Linked DNA regions of Homo sapiens: region 2 is linked to region 1. The links are contacts of gene promoters, found by promoter capture Hi-C in blood cells and fetal thymus (Javierre and others, 2016). All regions are on one chromosome and are shown on one strand. The core of a region is centred on a gene start or on the middle of the fragment in contact, and the rest is flanking DNA. Distances in the headings are between cores, read along the strand shown. Region 1 holds the start of SNPH (syntaphilin). Region 2 overlaps NSFL1C (NSFL1 cofactor).

Region 1 (6,491 bases), core at 2,169-4,668:
CAGGGCTCACGGTGAAAGGAAAACTCTCCATTCCTGGTTCACACAGTTTTCAACCAGGAAGTACCCTGCACCAATCACCTGGGAGAAATGCCTGATCTCTCACCGTAAATTGTTCACAGCTTCTTCTTCTCCAAACCCCTGTTCCCACCTGCAAGTGCACACACAGCTCACAGCATCAGCAAGGTATGCATGAAGAGGCAGCGAAACCTTTGGAAGGGGACGATGCAGACAGACCTGGTGTCGGATAGCAGTTCTAGCCGCGCAACCCTCAGCAAGTCACTTAGTCTCTCCAAGCCTCAGTCTCCCCATCTTTGAAATGGTCATAATTTTCTTTAAGGATTACCTGAGACAGTTAATGGTCTGGGACTTCATAAATGACGTTGAGGGTAATCATAGTTGTCTGATTTTTATTTAACAAAATCCACTCGACAGAATGTCAGAAGCAGAAGGGGTCTTAGAAATCACTTAGTCCAGTCCCATCATTATATAGATGGGCACACAGAGGCCTTGAGGGGAGGCCTGACTGGCCCAAGGTCACATAATAAGGCAGTGGTTCAATGGGACATGGGACCTGGGTCTCCTGACTTTCTACTGCATATCCATGTTGTCCCACTTGATTCTAATTACCTGCTCTCCTCCCTCAAACACAGAAAATGGCTAGAATCATTCCCTTCCCAATCCTCCTCCCTTCACAGTCATCTCACACCAGCTGGCACCATCTGGATCCCTTTTTGCCAACATCACCACCCTCCCAGGCACATCTGGCCCCTTTTGGTCTAGTCAGGAGCCCTAGAGGAGTAGGCGAAGCATCTGTTAATCACCAACAATAGCAATAATAACAGTAGCTGTAATAGCAATAATAATGACAACCAACAACCTGGACGATGTCCTACACTAAAAAGGGCTTTCACCTACATAATCAACACATTCCTACAGTTTCTCCCTAACCTAGTTGGCTTAGGGACATAATTTCCTCAAGTTTGTTTCATTCAACACTTACGGAGCACCTACTTTGGGCCTACTCATGGGCCAGAGGCTGGAGATAGAGAAAGGAAAATGATAGGGCCTCTGCCAAATAGGAATTTAGGGTGGGGGTGGGGGGACATGACAACTTCTTTTGGCCCAAATGGTGCAGCAGCAAAATTCCCCACCCAACCCTATGGAGAACCTCCTTTATCATGCTGTCAAAAGGCAGGAGGTATCTGGAATAAAGAGGAGCGAGAAAGGCTTGAGTGCTAGGCTGAAAATGACAGCAGGAAGGAAGATAAAGAATCGAAAATACAAGCACCAAAAACTTGACTGCCTGGCCTCAGGGTGACTCTAGGGAGACACTCCAGGGAGGGCAAGAGAGCCACAGTGGGATTCATGTGAGATCCGGAAGACCTGATCCCTGCCCTGCTGCCAGCACACAAGAATCTGCTGCTTCTGTTCCCTCAGAGACTCCGCCCTTGGATGCCAGGATTTTCCAAACCCAATGCTGGGCTACAGTCCTCCTTGGGACCATCATTTGCTAGAATGATGTCACAACCTTTGCAGTGGAAATGTTGCTGCCTGCCTAGGCCCTCAGCCTGGTGACCCAATACACTTCAGCATTCATTACCCCTGGCAGGGACACCATCTGCAGGGGTGTGGAAGAGACAGGCAGGGGATGGGGAGGAGAACAGGACTAAAAGCAGTCACCTCTTCCTCTCTTCCCCCAGCCTATCTCCCAAGTCCTGAGTTCCTGAGAACCTACTATGTGCCAGGCACAGGCACTATTTTAGGTGCTTCCACATACATCTCATTTAATTTTCACATCAGCCCTCTGCGGGCTGTACCCCTAGATTTACAGATGGAGAAACTGAGGCTGGGGGAAGGGAAGTCACTTGGCAGCTCAGGGATGTCAACATAGGACTGTCTGGCACCTCCAGCTCCTTGAGGCCCACAAGGTCAATGTTTCACTTAAGAAGTCAGAGTTGAAAGAGATCAACTGAGGAAACCCCAATTATTTCATGAAACTAAATTTAAATTGCCTTAGCAGAGGGGTCCCCCTGACATGTAAAAGCTGCTTGAGTGATATACTAAAATTATACACATCATTTAATCCAATTCCTGCATCTAACAGATGAGCAGACAGACACCCACGCCTAGAGAATTTTAAAATGGCTACTTGTGGCCAACTAGCAAGTTAAGGGCCTAGAACCCCAATCTCTGGCACTTTCCTTACACGACTCTGCCTGCAGAGATCACCTTTTTCTAAGAAGCTCCTCCAGCCCATCCCGACACCACCAGATGGGCAGAGAAGGCAGAGGAAACGGGCAGCATGTGACCGGCCTCTCTTTCAGTCTGCAGGGTTGGGGAAGGGAATATGGGGCTCCCCAGGCTAGTAGGTGTTGCAAACAGCCCAGATCCCGGCTGGGGAGTGGAAGGCTTCACATCCCAGGGAAGCTCCGGGGAGACGGAGGCTCAGATCGTCCACTCTAGGACTTATGGGCATTTTTTCCCCAGATCTACTGCAGGGCCCTGATGCTTCTCAGAGGGAAAGATGGGATGGAAGCAGTCATTGGCACTTGACCTTGGGGTGGGGGTGGGGTCTCATCCTTCTCCCACCCCCAGGTACCCCTGCTCCTCCTCCAAGAAGGAAAAGAGAAGCTTAAATGTTTGCCAAATGCCAGAAGGGGAAGACAAATAAAATTGGGGGGTGGGTTCCCTAAAAGCCTCCTAATCACCCACTTTGGGCATCTTCTCTGCTGCAATCAGCACCCTCTAATTCTTACATTTCAGGGAGGGGGAGGGAGGGAAGCGCTTAAAGGGATGTAGGGGAATGAAGGGAGGGTAAGAATGAGTCACGATTAACCCCTCTTAGGCTGGTGCCCTCCAAGGGATTCTACCGCAGCGAGCGGTTGCAAGCGGCCCCCACCTGCCGCGGTGCAGCGCAGGGCCAGCTCCCCGCTCCGCCGCGGCCTCCTCACCTGAGTCCACTGGCCCTCCGCAGCCCCGCCGGCTCGCACCACTCCGGCCCGGCTTGGCGCAGCGCCTCTGCAGTCGCTGCTGCAGCCGCCTGGCCCTGATCAGCGACCTGCGGGGTTAGGAAAAAGAGATAGACCGGGGCGGGTGAGCGCGGGCGGGGAACACCCAGGCAGCTGAGCCCCCGGCCGCTGACAGCTGGGCCGCTGCAGCCAGAAGGCTTGGAGGGCAGGCTGCCTGCCGGGTGCTCCGTCCCCTCCTCCTCGCGGCCCGCGGCCCCCACCCCACCCCCTGGCACTCGGCACTCTGGACTGCGGCGGGTGCAGCTGGGCGGTGGGCCCGGAGATCCCCGGGGTCCTTGTCATCACCTGCGGAGGCTTCCATGGCTTCAGCTGCCCTGCAGGGGCCGCCGAATTGCTCTCCCGAGCCCCTGCAGGAGGCGGCTAGCTGGGTGCTCGCCGGGGCTGGGGCTGCCGGGAGGGAGGGGCGGGGAGGGTGAGGTGGATGGAGGGGACCAGCCAGTCGGCGGCTCGCCGGCAGCTGCGTAAGCGGCCCGTCTTTACTTTCCTTCTTAAAGAGATAGTTAGTATCTTGCTCTAGAGGGCCTGGGAACAGAGACAACGAGCACACGGGGAGCGGCGGCCTCTCCCACCTACACACCAGCCGGTATTTTGAGCTGGGCGATCGATTGGGCGTGGTGGAAAGCGTCTTGGTCGGCTGTGTGACCCTGTGCAAGTCCCTTCACCTCTCTGGGCCTCAGCTTTTTCTTCTCTAACATGGGGTGATGATACCAGTCTCACTCCCTGGCACATAGTTGGCTCTAGTGAAATAGTAATTTTTATCTAAAAGCCTTTAGGAACATTTTTCATTGCCCAAACCAAGTCTGAGTACCAGGGGTATTTAATGTGAATGACAAGCACTTGGGCTACTAACAATGATAGCAGGAATCTTAAGTGTCTGAAAATGGAAATGTTTTCCTCTTAAGTAGTAAAAAGGTGAATCATTGGAAAGATCTCGGAGAGATAAACAATCACAACTTAAAATGTTAATTGTGGCTCTTTTCCCTCTGTCTTCCATCTGTCACAGGGAAAACAAGAAGACCAAAAAGTCCAAAAAACTGGATTTTCTGCCTAGCCCTTCCATTTCTAGCCATACAACTTTAGATAAGTTAACTCACTTTCTGGGCTTGGTTTCTTATCTGCTTCATGTGTGGGAAGTAGGTGGAGTGGGAATGGGCTCCTTCTTTCTGAACCAGGCCTGTCTGATCTGTCATTACTCTGCTCTAAACCATCCAGTGGTTTTCTGTATCGCTCTCCGCCACATGCCCTCATCTTACTCCAGCTCTCTGACTTCATCTTGCGTGGCTCTCCCCATCACTCACTTTTCTCCCATCAAGCTGTCCTTCTTGCTGAGGCCTCACTGCTGGGCCTTTGCATTTGCTGTCCCCTTTGCCTAGAACACACCAGAGAGCCACATGGTTCAATCCTTCCTTTCCTCCAGGTCTCTGCTCAAATGTTACTGTCTCAGAGAGGGCTTCCTTAACCATTCTACATAAAATACTAACTCCCTCCTCTCCACCTCCTTTGCCCCTAGTTTTGCTACACTTAATTACCAGCTGACATAGTGTATATTTACTATGTGTCATTTATCACTCCCACTAGAATGTACACTTCATGAGGGAAGGAACTTTGTTTTTTTCCCTTGCTGTATTTCCAGTGCCCAGAGCAGTGCCTAACACATAGTAGGAGCTCAATAAATATTGACTAAGTGAATGAGAAAGCAAGCACACATTGTGCCAGGCCCCAGTCTTCTATGGGAACACTAGGCCAGATGCCATCCTGGAAGTCCTTTTGTCTTAAGTCTCTTAAGGCTCTTAAGTCCTTAAGTCTGTTTACTCTCGCCGGTGCTGAACTTGGTACCCTCTACTCTCTGCCCCAAGCTGACTTTTCCAAGAGAAGAATTTGTAAAGTGACTTCACTGATTTACATCATGACTCTGCAGTACTGGCCTGGTGAGAAACAGTTAATATTGATAATGTACATGAAAAAATAATTATTTTAAGTTTACTGTTGCTTTTCACAGTCAAATCTTTTCCTGTATCTCTGAGCTGCAATAAATCCATTACTTTTTTTGCAACAAATGCTAATAAATTTTGGAGAGGACATTGATTCTATTTTCTCCTGTATTCCGTTAAACCATATCCTATCAGATAGCCATTATTATATTATGTTTTCTAGAAAAACATGGCAGAGCAATTTAGCAGGAATAGGAAACTAGTTGAAAAAGCCATGTGAAATGTTGAGGTCTTCTGTCCAAAACACCTAATGCTATATTAGCAAGTTAATTGATAAAATGTTTTATCTGCTCTAATGCTCACTGAAATTATATAAGTGACATTTTTACACTTAAAAGTGAAACCAAAGGAAGCCATGTAATTATTACATGTTTAGAAGGAGAACATTTCTGAGATTGTCATTAAAATATTTTTTTGTCTGTTCCCATGCTGTTTTGTTTATTAATAGAGATGGGGCTTTACTATGTCGCCCAGGCTGGTCTCCAACTCCTGGGCTTAAGCAATCCTCAGCCTCCCAAAGTGCTGGGATTACAGGCTTGAGCCACCATGCCTGGCTGTCCCATCCTCATGTGTGTATGTGTGTGGGGTTTTGTGTGGGGGTTTTTTTGGGTTTTTTTTTTTTTTTGCTTGGTACTTAGAAGACTACATTTCCCAGAAATCTCCACAAGGAACTTCCCCAAAGCAAGACAGTGACTTCACTCACATTACTCCCATCTGGAATGGTGTTAGCTAGTAAAGTATTCTCTTTATCATCAGGAAGCAGATGATTGAGAAGAGAACTGGTGTTTAGTTATAATGTAAATTGCAACAAATGAGGATTATAAGTATAAAACAAAATTATTCCTAATAAATTAGTAATTTTGTTTTGTTTTGGACTAGTTGAAAATACATTAAAAATTTTTTTAGTTTCAAAAACAATTGTATTCCAATTCTGGCTAAGCATACTCTCCCACAGAATGCAGCAATAAAACCTGAACAAAATGCATGTAGCAGCTATTTGAGGATTCTGAAGACAAAATACTAGCAGGCACACTGGGGAAGAAGCCAGAATTTGATATACCCTACCACTGAACTAGTGGTGAATTTATCATCTTTATTTCTTCCTATAACTCCTGTCCTGGTCTCAAGGCAGATCAAAATCTGGAATTGGGGCTCAATAAAGAGAAAGCTCCCAAAGAATCTCCCTAGTTTTGACTTGAAGATCAGGAAAAGGGACTTCTGATGCGCAGAGTATGTGGGAGATATCATTGTTCTTTTCCTTTCAAATCTTTTCTCCATTGTCTCATGACCCAGGCCCTAGGCCATCCTGCAGTGGTGTCTGTGACAGCAGGAACCCACAGGTGCCTAAAACTCTGAGGGAGGAGAAACTTCTTCAATAAAAGTAGCTGTAGTCCTGAGGGAGGGTGAGCCCCTGTTGTTGTTTTTTTGTCACTGTCCTCCTACCTCCTGGTCCCAGATGCAAGTTCAACTG
Region 2 (6,398 bases), core at 1,822-4,321, 200 kb before region 1:
GGAAGCCCCTATGCTGGGCAGAAATAAAAAGTTTCTACCTGAAAGACCTAAAAGCACACAGTGTTGTGACCAACAGATCTTCTGTCTCGTTCCCCTCACATTGTAGTGGGGAAACTGAGGATCATGCATGTGACTTGCCTGGCAGGAACAGGACTTGAATGTAGGCTCCCTGAGAATGCCAGTTCACTACATGGCCTGAGACAGCACACTGCCTCCCAGCAGATTACTTTTATCCCTTGACAGCTCACTGTCTCCTGTGAAGTTGGTGACCCTGAGGACAGAGGCCATGTCTATTTCATCTCTGTGACCTCAATGCTTTCTTGTGTTTGTGCAAAGCAAGTGATTAGTGAATGCCTGTCCGTTGAGTTGGTGACAGAGATGTCACAAATGACCAAAGGATTCCCATATTCCTTCTGTATGTGTAAACCTAAGATGCGAGTATGCATAAATCTTAATGGATTATCTCATCCAGTGTGCAGGTTGGTGAGACAGGTACCCCCATTTCACAGATTAGGAAACAACTTGAAAGAAAGGAAAAGTAGCAACCTGGACTGACTCCACAGTTCCTGACTCCGGGCTGTACTGGAAGCGCTTAAGAGTGAGGGCCTAAGCACACTAGCAGGGATGGAACCTGGCTCCTCTCTTTACCAGTTGTGTAAACTTGAACAAATTTTTTTTTAATCCTCAGTGCTTCTGTATCAACTATAAAATGAGATGATAAGAGTACTAATAGCATAGAGTTCTTGAGGATTAAACAAATTAACGTATGTAGAATGCTCAGAACAACCTGGCATGTAAATGCTCACTAAATGTGTGCTACTTTTACTAGATCACGTTTCTTCATAAAATGAGAATAAAGAGTGTCTTCCACCCCAGCCATTCTTACTGCCTTCTTTTCACCTTAGTGGGTGGAATTTGTTTCAGTTGACACGAAGACTAACAGCTGAGCTGTTAACCTTCTGGTCTAATTTTCTTTGGCCCATGGATGCAAGCTACCTTGTAAGTGTTGGCCATGTCTGTATTCCTTTGTGCTCAAAGGAGATGTGCGTTAGGTGAAGGCCTGTTTAAGGGTCCCAAGGTACTACCTCTCTGTTTCAGATCGCGCTAGCGAGCTTTTATGAGGACGGAGGGGATGAAGACATTGTGACCATTTCGCAGGCAACCCCCAGTTCAGTGTCCAGAGGCACAGCCCCCAGGTAAGGGCCAGCTTCAATTATCGCTACATGAGTGTTTCCAGCAGTGAAGAGGAGCTATTTTCTGACCAGAGCGTTCAGGCCTGGGTGTGTGGACCAGGTCTGAATGAGAAGGTTAGACTGAGTCAATGGGTAGTACTTCCCAGCAGGCCTCAGTCATTTCCTATACAGAGATGCATGACTTTTAACTGGGTGTGGTTTATGGTTCAATCCTGGGGGAAACCACAAACCTACTTTTAAGACTTTTACTTATGTAGTATGAGGAATGACCACTGCAACTCTAAAGTTTTTAAGTAAAAGCCAAAAAACTTCCTTTCAAGGGTGCTATAGATGTGAAAGTTTAGGCGAAATGACTTAGGAAAGCTGTTTTGATATTTTAGGATGCCCGTTACCTTATTAAGAAGTCTTGTACAAAATAAACCTGTGTAACCCACCCTTTGCCAAGTTGATTAGGGAGACCTTGTCTTACTAGGTAAAACAGTGTTAACCTTTGCAATCCCATTTGCATCCCCTGTCGCTGCCTCCCACAGCACCCACAGCAGATTACTCCTGTGCTCTGCAGAGTGAGACAATGCTGGTCTTCCAGGAGACAGGCAGGGGTGCTTCCTGTAAAGGTGTCTGAACCTTTACAGAGAGTGTGTAAGCAGAGGTGTCTCCCCTCTCTGCTTTCGCCTTATTGCTTCTACTCTCTAGTGTATGTTTTAGCCAGGAAATTTTATTTGGGTTTGAATTCAACCCCAGAATATAACCAACAGTGTTTCTTTGCCATGAAGTGGTAAATTATGTTTCTCTCTAAAGGCAACTGAGGTTTAAAATATATTTCCTCCCTTCGAAGAAGGAGCACTAACCCCAGATCTCATTGCTTTCTTCTTTCCCTAACTCCCATCCAGAGAAAAGAGGTAGGAGGAAAGTGATCTTGTAACTGTTTGCACGTGCTAACCTATGAGATGTTGGTGATGGCACATCTGGGTATTACTGCTTGGGACATGTTGTTAGGGTAAGTGCTGTTCTTGCAGCTGCTAGTAGAGATGGCTGATTTTCTGGGGTATGAGTCTTTGACAGCCACCTTAGGGTGTTGTTGGGATGTTGGCATGTCAGAATTATAGAGGGGGAGAGATTTAAACTTAGTCTCTAATGCCAGTTACATGTTTACTCCTTTCTTTTCTCCAGTAATCCCAAAGTTCTATTAAGGCAGTGGTTTATTAGCATGGGCCCAGGAGCCTGACTGCGTTGGTTCAAATCCCAGCTCTGCCACTTAAGTAAAAGCTTTGTGACCTTGGGCAGGTTACTTAACGTTTCAGTTCCTCATTTTCCTCGCCTGTCAAATGGTAATGATAGTGCCTACCACATGGGAGACTGAATGAGTTAATACTTACAAAGCAAATAGAACACAGCATGTGTTGTTATTATAATTTTAGTATTATCATTTTTAGCATTCATTCTCAATTGACCTGTTTTGTTTACTCTATTCCCCAACAAGTATGTACATTTAAGAATAGGCATAAAAGTGGCCAGGCGCGGTGGCTCACACCTGTAATCCCAGCACTTTGGGAGGCCGAGACTGGTGGATCACGAGGTCAGGAGATTGAGACCATCCTGGCTAACATGGTGAAACCCCGTCTCTACTAAAAATACAAAAAAAATTAGCCAGGTGTGGTGGCAGGAGCCTGTCATCCCAGCTACCCGGGAGGCTGAGGCAGGAGAATGGCGTGAACCCGGGGGGCGGAGCTTGCAGTGAGTCGAGATTGCGCCACTGCACTCCAGCCTGGGCGACAGAGCAAGACTCTGTCTCAAAAAAAAAAAAGGCATAAAAGTAAAAGAATCAAGGACATAGAGTTTAACATTAGAACTGAAGTGAGTAAAAAGACTGGACGCACATTTGGTCCAAGAGGCATTGCTTTATTGCTCTGGTTAAGGCTCAGACTTGGTAGTAGGCTTAGAAAAGAACTGAAGACAAGAAAAAGGGAGGGAGGAGGGCGCAGTGTGTTGCATGGTTTGTCCTTGTTGAGGAGGAAAGCAAATGCTAGGACTACATTCTCAGGAAAAACCAAACTTGTGCTAGCACCTCAGAGGAATTCTGTGTGGGGCCTGCCTCTGCTTTGACCTGGCAGTTGCAGGACACTTAGCCAGCTGCTGCCCTCTCCCATCCCCCACTTTTGACTTCTCACATACCCTTTTATGTTGTCACTGCTGCCTCAGAGCAACACCCAACTCTAGAATAAGGATTCTTAATATGGAGCCCGAGAACCCTAGGAGGAATCTATGAAATGAGCGTGAGAAGGTCTCTATTAATACCTGAAATTACAGGCAAAAGTTTGTGTACATGTTAGCAGGTATCTTTTGTGGCAAGAGAGTCCATGGCTTTTATGAGATTCTCAAAGGGCTGACAGACATAAAAATGTTAACCATTGCTATAGGAGACAGTTTAAACTCAGTAATAACAGCTGCCATTTATTGAGTATTTACGAGTGAGGCACTGAGTTAAGCTTTTACATGAACATCTTTTTAGTCCTCACAGCAACCCTGTGAGGTTAGTACTGTTGTTAGTACTGTTAGCACTGAGGTTAGTACTATTCCTATTTTACAGATGAGGACACTGAAGTTGGGTATCTTTCCAAGATCACAGAGCTAGTAAAACAAGGATTTAAGTGTAGGGCTGTTTTCTACATTCAGCATTTCAGCTCTCAGCCCCAACAATGTTCTGCCTCTTCTTGTGGACATTCAAAGTCCTCCAGAGTTTACCCTTGGACCCACCTTCCTAATCTGATTCCCTTTTCCTCATTTCTTAAATCCTTTGTTCCAACCAAACTGATTTCTTTGGTGCTCTAATTCTTCCTTATTTTTGGTTCTCCTGCTTTTGTTTGAGCCTCTCACCTGATCAGGTGTGCCCGCTCTCTTGCTTTCTGCCTATACAAATCCCATGCATCCTTCCATGTTTACCTCCATCCCCACTCTGCTGAGCGTGTTATTGCTAACCCTGTGACCAGGCTGCACGCCATAATTCTGTTCCACAGAACTCCAGTCACAACTATCACTCCTTCAGTTCTTTGACTATATCCATGTACTACTGGGTGGCATCTCTCCCACATTGCCCTGAACTCTTTTCCTGATATTTAACTTAATTTTTCTCCCCAAGTAAATTGTAAATTCCTGGAAGTGGGACGGCTAGTATTTCAGGAGCAGTCACCAAAGCTCTGCCATGTTTCTCACCTGTGTTCTCTTCTGATACTGTTCAACAGCTTTGAAATAGGTAAGGTGCTTACCATTTCGCTGGTCAGGATGCTAATTCTTAGAAAGGTCAAGTAACTTACAGCTGCTGTTACCACAGATTCAAGGCGAAGTCTGCCTAAGTCCAAAGCTGCTTCTGCTGCCACATGCTACCTCCCTGCCAGCACCTCCCACCCCTGTATGCAGGGTCAAGCAAGAGGTAACAGTTTCTTCCTTTTTTCCCCTCTTTCATCCAGCAAAAGTTGTACTTTAAACTTCCGGGAACTACGATTGTCTGATTCTCTAAAATTACACGATCCAACAAGGTAGCTACTAGCTATTTAAATTAATTGAAATTAAACAAACATTGTTACTCGTTTTCTCTAACCACATTTCAGATGCTTAATAGCCAAATGTGGCTAGTGGCTTCTCTGTTGGACAGTGCAGATAGAGCATTTCCATCATCACAGAGAGGCAGAGCTAGGGTAACCGGATTAAAAGCAGAAAATGTCATCTGATGAAGGAGTTTTGTGCCACTTCAGTATGCCAGAGTAGCCTGGGAGATAGTTCTAATATTGAAAAATTGAACTTTCTGAGATATTTAGCCAATTTGTAGAGACCATAGGACAAAAGTATTGTGCAATTGCTAATATCCCTAGGACATCCATGCCATAAGGTAACTGAAAGCATTACTCCAGACAGTGGTTCTGAACTTGAATATATGTCGGAATTACCTCAGGGGCTCCTTAAGGCTAGATTGCTGGATACCCCTTCCAGAGGCTCTGATTCAGGAGAATTAAGAGGGGGCCTGGGGATTTGCATTTCTGACAGGTTCACTGTAATGCTGATGCTCCTGGTCCATGACCACACTTTGAGAACTGCTACTCAAGAGTAGTACTTAAATGTGCCACACCATGCAAAAGACTTTCCGTGCATCAGTACCCCACCTGCACACAGAAAGCCCATAGGTTGGTGCTGTGATTGTCTTATTTACATGTGAGAAAATGAAGGCTTTGAGAATTTAAATAGCATGTCCAAGATCCCAAGGGTAGGAGGCAGAATTGGGATTGGAATCTGGTACATGGATACCAGAATCAATGTCGGATACCATCAGAGTCTGGGTGTATGAGTTTTGGGGGAAAGAAACAAAGCCATAGCAGAGCAAGTGATTTGCCCAAGCAAGTGTACACACATATATTTGAAAGTTTAACAACAGGGAGATAGAAAATATTTTTTTCATAGATGCTCATCCTAGCCTAGTCATTGGAAGAAACTTTAGGCTGAGCATGTATGGAAAATTCCCTTTGGGAAGATGAATGAGTGGAACTAGTACTCTCAGGGTACTAGTACAGATCTCATCACTTGGATCCTTTTGAACCATGTCATATCAAGCATCAAGGAATGCCCGGCAGACTGTTCTCAGGAGCCAACTCATGCAGGGAGCTTGTTTGCTACATTGATTGGTTTTTGTCTTCTCACTTCTAGTTGATGGATCCTCAAAACTCTTCTGTCCCCTGATTGTCTCCTTGAAATAAATCTTCAAGACTGAACTGGAGCTTTCTTCCTAGTAAACAGCTCATTAAAGCCTCACTAAACCTGTATTACTCTCTGTTAGTCTTTTCTCACACTGCTATAAAAAACTACCTGAGACTAGGTAATTTATGAAGAAAAGAGATTTAATTGACTCACATTTCCACAGCTGTACAGGAAGCATAGCTGGAAGGCCTTAGGAAACTTACAATCATGGTAGAAGGCGAAGGGGAAGCAAGCACATCTTCACATGGTGGCAGGAGAAAGCATGTGTGAAGGGGGAAGTGCCAGACATTTTAAAACGATCATATCTTGTGAGAGCTCACTCACTATCATGAGAACAGCATGAGGGAAATCCACCTGCATGATCCAGGTCCCTCCTCCAACACTGGGAATTACAATTCAACATGAGATTTGGGTGGGGACACAGAGCCAAACCATGTCACCCTCTTTGTCCCATATTATATG

What was found. Contacts are between HindIII fragments. The CHiCAGO score rates a contact against its expected background, and 5 or more counts as called.
Region 2: a fragment that was not itself captured here is called in contact with the fragment with the promoter of SNPH in region 1 in 1 of 17 cell types (naive CD8 T cells); the score reaches 5.1 in naive CD8 T cells.

What each region holds. Positions count from the first base shown.
Region 1 is chr20:1,263,221-1,269,711 of GRCh38, reverse strand. SNPH (syntaphilin) reads right to left here and starts at 3,418. Exons shown (of 7, transcript NM_001318234.2): 1 at 3,315-3,418; 2 at 2,952-3,058. RefSeq lists silencers at 2,923-3,002, 3,103-3,182 and an enhancer at 3,583-3,732. The HindIII fragment of the contact is 11,249 bases long and covers 2,634-6,491 here.
Region 2 is chr20:1,459,127-1,465,524 of GRCh38, reverse strand. NSFL1C (NSFL1 cofactor) reads left to right here. Exons shown (of 9, transcript NM_016143.5): 2 at 1,099-1,196. Among named protein-coding and RNA genes, the nearest start is that of NSFL1C, 4.5 kb to the left of the region's middle. The HindIII fragment of the contact is 1,220 bases long and covers 2,462-3,681 here.